Regions from separate parts of the Homo sapiens genome. Here regions 2 and 3 are each linked to region 1. Evidence: promoter capture Hi-C in human tissues and cell types (Jung and others, 2019). All regions are on one chromosome and are shown on one strand. Each heading gives the region's core, a stretch centred on a gene start or on the middle of the fragment in contact. The rest is flanking DNA. Distances are from core to core; before and after follow the strand shown. Region 1 holds the start of IDE (insulin degrading enzyme). Region 2 has its middle 31 kb from the start of EXOC6. Region 3 has its middle 61 kb from the start of EXOC6.

Evidence for each region. The method cuts DNA at HindIII sites, captures the fragments that hold promoters and counts their contacts. A contact is called where the count stands out against the background at its distance.
Region 2: a contact is called between a fragment that was not itself captured here and the fragment with the promoter of IDE in region 1, in 1 of the 25 tissues and cell types used here (spleen).
Region 3: a contact is called between a fragment that was not itself captured here and the fragment with the promoter of IDE in region 1, in 2 of the 25 tissues and cell types used here (mesenchymal stem cells and spleen).

The regions. Positions count from the first base shown.
Region 1 is chr10:92,572,480-92,575,685 of GRCh38, reverse strand. It overlaps IDE (insulin degrading enzyme), which reads left to right and starts at 1,593. Exons shown (of 25, transcript NM_004969.4): 1 at 1,593-1,764. The coding sequence starts at 1,667. RefSeq lists enhancers at 934-1,173, 1,184-1,243 and a silencer at 1,744-2,193. The HindIII fragment of the contact is 24,485 bases long and covers 1-3,206 here.
Region 2 is chr10:92,816,293-92,819,498 of GRCh38, reverse strand. No RefSeq gene overlaps it. Among named protein-coding and RNA genes, the nearest start is that of EXOC6, 31 kb to the left of the region's middle. The HindIII fragment of the contact is 4,911 bases long and covers 1-3,206 here.
Region 3 is chr10:92,786,124-92,789,329 of GRCh38, reverse strand. No RefSeq gene overlaps it. Among named protein-coding and RNA genes, the nearest start is that of EXOC6, 61 kb to the left of the region's middle. The HindIII fragment of the contact is 4,952 bases long and covers 1-3,206 here.

The DNA.
Region 1 (3,206 bases), core at 344-2,843:
ACGCCTGGCTAATTTTTGTATTTTTAGTAGACACGGGGTTTCACCATTTTGGTCAGGCTGGTCTCGAACTCCTGATCTCGTTATCCGCCCGGCTTGGCCTCCCAAAGTGCTGGGATTACAGGCATGAGCCACCACGCCCGGCCATCTGGAAGCATTTTTATGTAAGCATTTCTAATAAGTAGCCTAAAGAGATCTCAGGAAAAAAAAGGGTACTAATCTCCAAGTCTCGAGTATTTGTTGTGATGTATTTTCTCTCTATAGTAATCTTCTGATTGCTAATTTTGTATTTATAATTTGTATTTTATGTCTCAAAGAGGTCCCCCAAATTGTATATGTTTCAAGCCCTCCAAGTCTGAATCTACCCCAGCCCATTTATAGATTCCATTAATGGAGCATAAATGTATTCAGAAAGGCTGCATTAACACTCTCAGAGGAGCTGCTTCAAGGTGATTGACTACTCTGCATTGGGACTGGTAATTTAAAGGTTCTTAAAACCATGCACTTGCAAACACCACTAGGAGGCTTGCCATAATTTTTACCTGTTTTCATCCAAAGGTTTGCCTTTAGGTGAAACCGCACTGTTAAAAAGATCGTGGGTACGTCTTCGATAAAGCATCAACTTGATTAAGGAACCCTCCTACTGAATTCCCATTTAAAGCAATACTTGGACTAAGGACACCGTTTTTGGCTGCAGTCTTGATCGTCTGTCAATCAGAAACCTAAAAGTACTTAAGCTGGCAAGTCACCATCCCTAATAGCATTCTTCCTTAAAGACTCCCATAAGGTATTATGGAAAGTTAGATTCATAACAACTATTAAGTTGTTCGTGGGTGCAAAGCCCCATAAAGCCACTGGGGAGAAAATTCTTTGTTTAAAAAGTAACCACTGAAGCCGACTGACATTAGTAGTATTCCTAGTACGGAGTACTAACAAGAGTAGTAGTTTCTACTCTGGATTTGAAGCCTTGTTTTGCTGCGGCGCCCGTCCCATCCGCACCTTCCTCTTAAGAGAGCTGCTAACTTCCCCAAGGATGGAAACGTCCCCCTGGGTCCTGGCCTCTCTATCGCTGACCCCTGCGTCTGAATTTCCCCCACGCCGCACTCGAGCCTTGTCTCCAGCGCATCTGTGCCTTCGCGGTCCACGTCCCCACCGCGCTCTAGAGGGAGCCCGCGGGCCGCGCGCCGGCCGCGGATTCATTTTACGTGAGGCCGCCGCGACCACGAACCTTGTTCCAACACCTGCAGGGTCCGGCACGCTAGTCAGTGGGGGTGCCTCAGAAAACATAGCCCCGTGTGCCCTCACTGGATTTATGAGCGGCCCCTCGCCCCCTCACAGTCAGACACACGTCGCCACCCTCACAAGTGCGGCCGGTGGGATCTAGCTGGGACCCTCCCCGCCTGGGAAAGTCTGGGTGCTGGCTCCTAAAGCGCCCCGGCCAAACCCCTGTCCCTCCAGTCCGCCTGCTCAGGCCTCGGCTGTCCGCGGTCTTCACCGTCCTCGCCTGCGTCCTGGCCCCATCCGGCTCCAGGCAAAACCCGGAGCAGCTACCTCTCCGCAGCTCCCGGGAGACCGCGCGGCGCCGCGGCTAGAGCATGCGCAGTGCGCAGGGCCGGCTCGAAGCGCAAGCAGGAAGCGTTTGCGGTGATCCCGGCGACTGCGCTGGCTAATGCGGTACCGGCTAGCGTGGCTTCTGCACCCCGCACTGCCCAGCACCTTCCGCTCAGTCCTCGGCGCCCGCCTGCCGCCTCCGGAGCGCCTGTGTGGGTAAGCGGAATGGAGCGCCCGGGCCCTCGGGCCCCGTGGGTCACAGCGGTTTGGCGCTCGGGTTGCAAAGTGGTGATTCAGCACTTAAAGCCGCCACCGCTGCCCCTCACGCCGCCCGTCCCGCCGGCCTGGGGCCCGTACTGCCGCGCTGAGGCCGCCCCAGGGCCCGGAAGAGCGGCTCGCCAGGCGGGAGCCAGAGGCCTGGTCCAGAGTCGGGGACGTCCCTTGGGCTGGTGAGGGGCCGGGGCCGCTACCCGGGGCCACGGGGCGTGTGCCACTAGTGCGGGGGGCGCAGGGGCGGACAGAGTCACCCGGCCTGCACCTGGGAGCCGCGCCGCGTCACTCTCCCGGAGTCCGCCTGTGAGGGGGCCGGGAACCTGAGGCGGACTCGAGCCGTGGGGTAAAGGAATCCGGCGACTTCGGGGGGACCGCTTCTCACCTTGCCCTCAGCCCTGCCCTTTTCTCCGGGCACTGAGTTTCCAGGACCGTGTGGAATGCCCGCGCTGGGAAAAAAGTTTGCCTGCCTCCCGCCTTGGAAGACGAGTGTGGGGTTTCCTATCGGGGGACATTTAGGAGCCAAAAGATACCTCGGGATCCTCTACAGCAGCTCCCTTGTTTTACGTCGGAGACAACCGGAGCTCCGAGAGATGGCTTGATTTCCCAGCAACTGCCGAGATTGTGGCAAAACCAGGATTAGGACACAGGTTTTTTGCCATCCGGCGGCGTGCCCTCTCCACTGCACCGTTGATCTGCGTACGCTAGGCGTTTTCAGGCTTGTAGTGAACGCTGAATACTTTTTACTACGAATGGAAGAAGATAGGCAGTATTATCTTGCCCTCCCTAGAAACGTTATTTGAACCCCTGCTGGTTTTAATCAGTAATAGCCAGCACCTACTAAGTGCAGGGCACTGTGCTGGACCCTCTATGTAAAGTATGTGTCTGCCTTCCAAGGAACTTTGACTTGATTGGAGCGGATTGGGATGCCACGGGAATTGAGATAGCTACAAGGGTGTGTTGATGAGGGTCAGAAGATGGGTAGTATGGGTAGTGTGTGGGGCCAGAGATGGGGGGGTAGGCTGGCTTTGGAAGGAATGGCAGAAAGGTTGGAGTGAGGGCTGGCGTGGGCGTAATCCAGCCTAGATATGCGGGCAGTTTGTGTTGGGGGAGCAGTGAGCCGATTAGTCTGGTTGAAGCTTTATAGAATTTCCTTGGGGTAATTAGAAGGACACAAGTCCTGTATTATAACAGTAGGGTAATGCTGGCCTGGGTCTTGAATTTTAGTTGGGATTTTCCCAATGCGTAGTAGGTAGGGAGCCATTAAAGTTTTTGAGCTGGAAAGTTATCTGATGGAACTGGGGGTTTAGGAAAGTAGTTTGGTGGCTGTGTGCAGGATGTCAGGAAGTGGAGAGAGTCCTAAGGCAGAGAAACCTGTTGGGACTTAG
Region 2 (3,206 bases), core at 463-2,962, 240 kb before region 1:
GAGCTTACTGCAGCCACGACATTGCAGGCTCAGGTGATCCTCCCACCTCTGCCTCCTGAGTAGTTGGGACTACAGGCATGCACCACCACTCCTGGCTAATTTTGTATTTTTTGTAGAGGCAGGGTTTCACCATGTTGCCCAGGCTGGTCTCAAACTCCTGAGCTCAAGCGACCCACCTGCTTTGGCCTCTCAAAGTGCTAGGATTACAGGCATGAGCCATTGCGCCCGGCTCTGCAATGAAGTATTTTTTAATTAAGATATGTACATTGGGTTTTTTAGACATAATGCTATTGCACACTTAACAGACTAGAGCCTAGTGTAAACATAATTTTTATATGCACTGAGAAACAAAAAAAAATTGTGTGACTCATTTAATTGTGATATTAGCTTTGTTGCAATGGTCTAGAAGCAAACCTGCAATGTCTCCAAGTTATGCCTGTAATCATTTTGGATTCAAATTCTCTTCAAGACTGGGGCTATGTTTCCACTTTATGCCTTGGAGCCTCTTCTCCCCAACTCCTTTTGAGATTTCTCTCAGTTACTTCTCAGATAAGGGACAATCAGTGTGGGCCCCTGGAGACCAACTAGAAGATACAAGGGCCCTTCAGAAAACACTCTAGCAGGGCCATCGAGGACAGACAGGGTCAGTATGCTCCCTGGAGACTTCTAAAATGTACATGCTTTTTGGCCCTGTCCAGAGGTGCTGAGCCTCTCTTTTAGTTTATGAATGAGAACTTGTGACAAGGGGCTGAAGCCACCTGCCTATGAGACTGGGAGAGGTAAATTGTCAAATCAGAACATCATGTGATTATGACTTCTGTTCATATAAATGATTATCATGCTTCTTGTCTAATTTAACACAAATACATTACCCATAACCTGCCCCAACCCCACCTGCCCCCATAGAAGCCGTGATGAGAAAGCCTCATTTCACATCACAATGTAGCTTTCCTTCCATACCAGGTGATGAACAAAATGGGTCCAGCTATGTGGTCAGGTCTCAGAATCAAGGGAGGCTTCTGTGTAGTGTAGCAGTTATATTCAAAGACTCTAGAGTCAGACTGCTTGGGTTCAAATCCTACCTCTGCTATTTATTAGTGATGTGGCCTTGGGTACTTTTCTATACCCGGAGTTTTCTTCTCTACGTAATAGACAAGCTCCTGTCTCATAAGTTTGTTGGGAGATTAAATTAAGTAATGAAAATAAGGTCTTCAGAATAGTGCCAGGAAAGTAATTAACCCTATAGAAGCGTTAGTATTATGCCATAATGAGGAAAGTTATTATGTACCACTGAAGATAATTATTTTAATTAACTGATTTCTATTTTTTGGTCTGGTGAAAAGGATTGTTCCTCTACATCTTTTCAAATGGACACATGTGGATATTTCTCTGATGTTCAATGATCAGTTTCCAAAAGATAAGTTGCCCATGAAAATGCTAGGTGACCACAATGTTCACCTGTTTATTATAAAGTTATTTCCAATGTACTGTTCTTAAGTTTGTTATGTGCTCATTCATCATTTTACAAAGACTATAGATTTAAGGACCTTCCATGTGCCAAGCCTTTGAGAAGCCAACAGGTCAGTGGAGAAATTTCTTTTTTATTCCAAATTAACTTGTCGGGGGCGTGAGGTCTTGGACTGAGAATGTGCACCCTATACCCAGGGTGGCTTGCACACCTACTGCAAGAATCCATCTCTGGACCTTAGAGTCAGGATCTGAACACAGATCTGCCTAACTCTAGAGCTCAGAACCACTATGTGATAGGCCTCCCTGGCTCATTGGTGCTTCACAATCCAGGACCATCCCTTTTGACCTGACTCCTAGAACTTTCCATCCGGCATGCAACCCAGGAATAACCGCCTATTTGGTCTGCCCAGGCTCCTGGAGCTTATTCATGGGGCGAAGAAAAATGAGCCTTGACTCCTAGGAAAGTAATGCAAATAAAAAGGACTGGATTAAACACTCCTTTAGTGTTTCCTATTCTGCTTCAACATTCCCCAATCATCACTAAAGAAGGACTGTACCATGGATAAAGGGGGAAGCTGCTATTTTCTTGTGGTCTTTATTCATATCCCCCGGCTTCTCATTCTCAGCCTCCTTTCCAAGTTCCTTTTCATCTGTTTGTCTTCTAAATGTAGTTGTTTCCCATGATTCTGTCCTCAACTCTCCCTTCCTCTTACTTTAGGGTCCTGTGTGTTCATCTTCCACTTGTGTGTTGATGAGTCTCAAATCTAGATCTCCAACTGCACTTCTCCCCTAAGCGCCAAACTTCATTTTTAACACCTACATTACATCTCCACCAGAATATCCTATCCCATCATCATGTCCAAAATTGAACTCATTAACTTCCCTCTCCTCCCACTGTAAGTCAATTTCCATGCATCAAACACCCACCTACTAATAATGATAATATCCCCACACAGGTATTCCCAACCTGCTCTTTCTCTCCAGGTCAATCTCTACCTAGCTCTTCTTCATTAGCTCTGACCTGGGTACCTCTGGGCATTTGTAGATGCTGTTCCTTTCATCTGGAATGCACTTCCGTCTGTCTACCTGGTAAACAGATTTCTATATGTTCTTCAAGATTCAACACAGACAGCCCCCTCTTCAAAACCACTCTAGGTCCTGAATGGTACATCTCATAGGACATAATTTGGATAGGACATATATGCTTTATTTCCAATATTAAACTGAATTCTTTGAAGACCACTTTTGGGTGTTATTCACTTCTGTAGTTCTCAGAGCACTTAGTACAGGACCTCCTACAGAAAAGTTTTCAATAAATGTTTGCTGGAATAATTAATCAATGTAGTAAATAATTAATAAAGTAGTCAATAACTCATAAGGTAGTAAAATGGAACCAGTATGCTTGAGTGGTGATTTATTTCTTCCTCCACCCATTCTTTGTCTTCAAATTTCCCATTGCCTACTGTCACTTTTCTGGATTGGTCACCACTCAGAAATTTTGATGTTGTAAATAGTTTATCTTACAAAATTTTTGGAGTTAATTTGGTTTATAAGGCCTGACACAATCTGGCCCCTTACAAGGACAGCTATTGTAGAGTAGAAACTGAGAGAATGACTAATGTGAATTCCTTCATTTCAAACACACTATGATAAAAAGAAAAGTTTCCATTTATACCACATTTTACAGGGTTATGGTTCAATAGGTGATCTGTATGCTTCCTTTTGACTTCCAAACA
Region 3 (3,206 bases), core at 208-2,707, 210 kb before region 1:
GAGGGCACCCCCAGCAGTTCAGTCTGGGATGAGGGGACTCGAGGCCGGACAGAGCCGAGCTAGGCACCGTTCTTGGGTTTCCAGCCACCCAGATGCTCAGTTGCTCAAGTGTGACAACTAGGGCCTTCTCAGAAGCAGCCGGTACAGCCTCAAACGCTTCAGCTGGCAGGTGTGAAGGCCTCCAGCTCTTCGAGAGCAGTTTTCTTCCTGACAATGGGTGTCTATCAACTAACAAATAAAATTTGAGATGGACCCTGCAATTGTCCTTCCCATTTTACAAGGGAGGATATGGGTTTGCCTTGACCACTGTCTAGGCTCACACTCCGCAAGTGGCAAGCCCTGAGAAGACACCCCACATGAAGAAAGACAAACACAACCAGCTAACTTCTCCTCTTGCATTTGAAAGAGAACAGCTTTGATCTTAGTTTCATGGTAGGTGGTCAGCTTTCATTGATTTCAACTTTTTTTTTTCTAAGTTTCCCATAAAGGAAAATTTCTCCATCCTCCCCACTACTTCCAGAATACTGGGGGATTTCTCTCAACATAAAAGAATGTTGGAGTCTTTTAATTTCTAAGGGATCATGGCAACCAATTTGAATATTTTTCTCTATAGCACAACAGTCATGTCACAATCTTACCTTTAGAATATGTTTTCATTCTTCCCACTCATCAACTCTTTGACATAGGTACAGAAAATATCTTCATCCTATTTTGCAGATCTGAAAGTAGAGGCCCAAAAAGATCCTGTGTCTGACTTAAACCACACAGCCATGTTACTGAGTGGGGCTGAGATTTAAACTCAGGTCCCTCCAACTTCCATGGCCAAGACCGTAACTACCATGCTCTTAGCCACCATAATCAGGAGCCCTGATTGGGCTTCTTCTCAATCAGTGGGATCAAAACTTGGTGTGAACTAATTCTTAGCAGCAGAGCAACGACTAGAAAACAATTGGCAGGCATCCACAGCTGCACCAGGCCAAAGAGAGTATGTATTTGTCCACAGCCAAGCCAAGGGAATGGAAGAGCCCCAGAGCCAGGCATGGTGGTAGCAGCCAGTTGTACAAAGACCCATGGAACTGGGGCCAAAAGGAGTGAGAATTCCAAAGGAAGTCAAGGGCAGCCATGAGTGAACATGTGCTTTCATTACGCTTCCCTTTCATACTCTCCTAGACCAGATGAACCTGGACCAATGAATGGTTCTTGAGCTTTATAGTAAGATCTCTGAGGAAGGGTTGGGGGTGCTTATTAAAACACAGATTTCTAAGTCCACCTTATTCCTATGAATCAAAATCCCCGAAAGTGAGACCCCAGAAGCTTGTGTAAACAAGCTTCCCAGGGATGCCGACCACACCTGGAGAAGCAAGGACCAGATGGCAGAGGCGGGTCTGCAGGTGTGTGTGGCTTCCTGCAGTAAAGACAGCTCTGCCTGCTCCTGCATTTAGTTAACAAAAGCAGATGAGCAGGAGAAAGTTTCTCATGTGCTGAAACAAGAAAAGAGAAAAGAGTTACTAAAAGACGTGTGAAAGCGACAGGAGCAAATGTCCCAACCTATCCCAGAGAGGGCTTCAGCAGCACGGAGGCACAGGTGTGGTGAGGTCAGAGGGAAGACGCCGCCACCTGGGCATTGTCTACCAAAACCAGGCAGTGCAGGTGACAGGTTCCTTGCTGCAACGGGAAGGGGAAGCAGATGAGAGAACAACAGCAAGGAAGAAGCTTGTAATACGTGTTTTACCTCAGCTGTCATTCTAACTGCTGCACACGCAGGCACACAAAACATTTTTTTAAGTTTTTGTTTGTTTGTTTGTTTTTGAGACAGCCTCACTCTGTCGCCCAGGTTGGAGTGCAGTGGTGCAGTCATGGCTCACTGCAGCCTCTATCTCCCAGACTCAAGCAATCCTCCCACCTCAGCCTCCCGAGTAGCTAGGACCACAAGTGCATGCCACCACGCCTGGCTAATTTTTAAATTACTTGCAGAGACAGGGTCTCCCTATGTTGCCCAGGCTGGTCTCAAACTCCTGGGCTTAAGCGATCCTCCCACCTCAGCCTCCCTAGTAGCTAGGACCATAGGTGCACGCCACCAGGCCTGGCTAATTTTAAATTTTTTTGTAGAGACAAGGCTTCCTGTGTTCCCCAAGCTGGTCTCAAACTCCTGGGCTCAAGCTATCCTCCCAACTCAGCCTCCCAAAGTGCTGGGATTACAGGCTTGAGCCTCTGTACCTGGCTTTAAGTTGTTTTAATAGCAGCAGTGGAAGCCTTCACACACTAGGAAAGAATAATCTGTGTTTGCTGAGATGGGTAGGCTATGGCAAGGCTCAGCCTTAGCCACTGAAAGAAGGCATTTTTCAAAGGCTGACTGGGGACATTAGGAATTATTTTGGAGAATTAACAGGAAGACAGGACTGCACTGATACTTTATATGCCCTCTTACTGTTGTCGTTGTTGTTGTTGTTGTTTTTCAGTCTCCCAATAGATAGAAAGTCCTCTTGTTATAGACTGAATTGTGTTCCCTGAAATTCATAGATTGAAGCCTTAACTCCCAATGTGACTGTATTTGGAGATTGGGCCTTTAAGGAGGTGATTAAGGTACATGAGGCTGAAGGGGTGGGGCCCTAATCCAATAGGATTGAAGTCCTTATAAAAAGAAGAAGAAACATCAGAGAACTGTCTCTCTCCATCCTGGCACAGATGAAAAGCCATTTGAGGACACAGCCAGAAGGCAGCTGTCCGCAAGCCAGGAAAAGAGGCCTCATCAGAAGCCAACCCTGGAGGCGCCTTAATCTTGGACCTCCAGCCTCCAGAACTGTGAGAAAAATAAATTCCTGTTGTTAAAGGCACCCAGTTTGTATCATTTCTTACGGCAGCCCTAGCAGAAAAATACACCTCTCTGAGCCTCAGATCCTTCATCTGCAAAATGGGGATAATCACATTACCTTTGCCATCGAGTTACTGAGAGAATTAAGTGAAATAATATGTGTAATAATGTGATATATGTAATAGGTTAACTGGCACACAATAAGTGCTAGTTATTATAGCCCATGTCATAGGATTGTTAATTGGACTAAGTGAGATAATCAATGTGATACTCTTGGTACAACAGCTGCACATAGTAGGTGCTTAATAAATTGTAACTATAAACACTGTTATAAACTTTTATTCATTTATTTATTTATTTATTTTTCAGACAGTCTTGCTTCATCGCCCAGGCT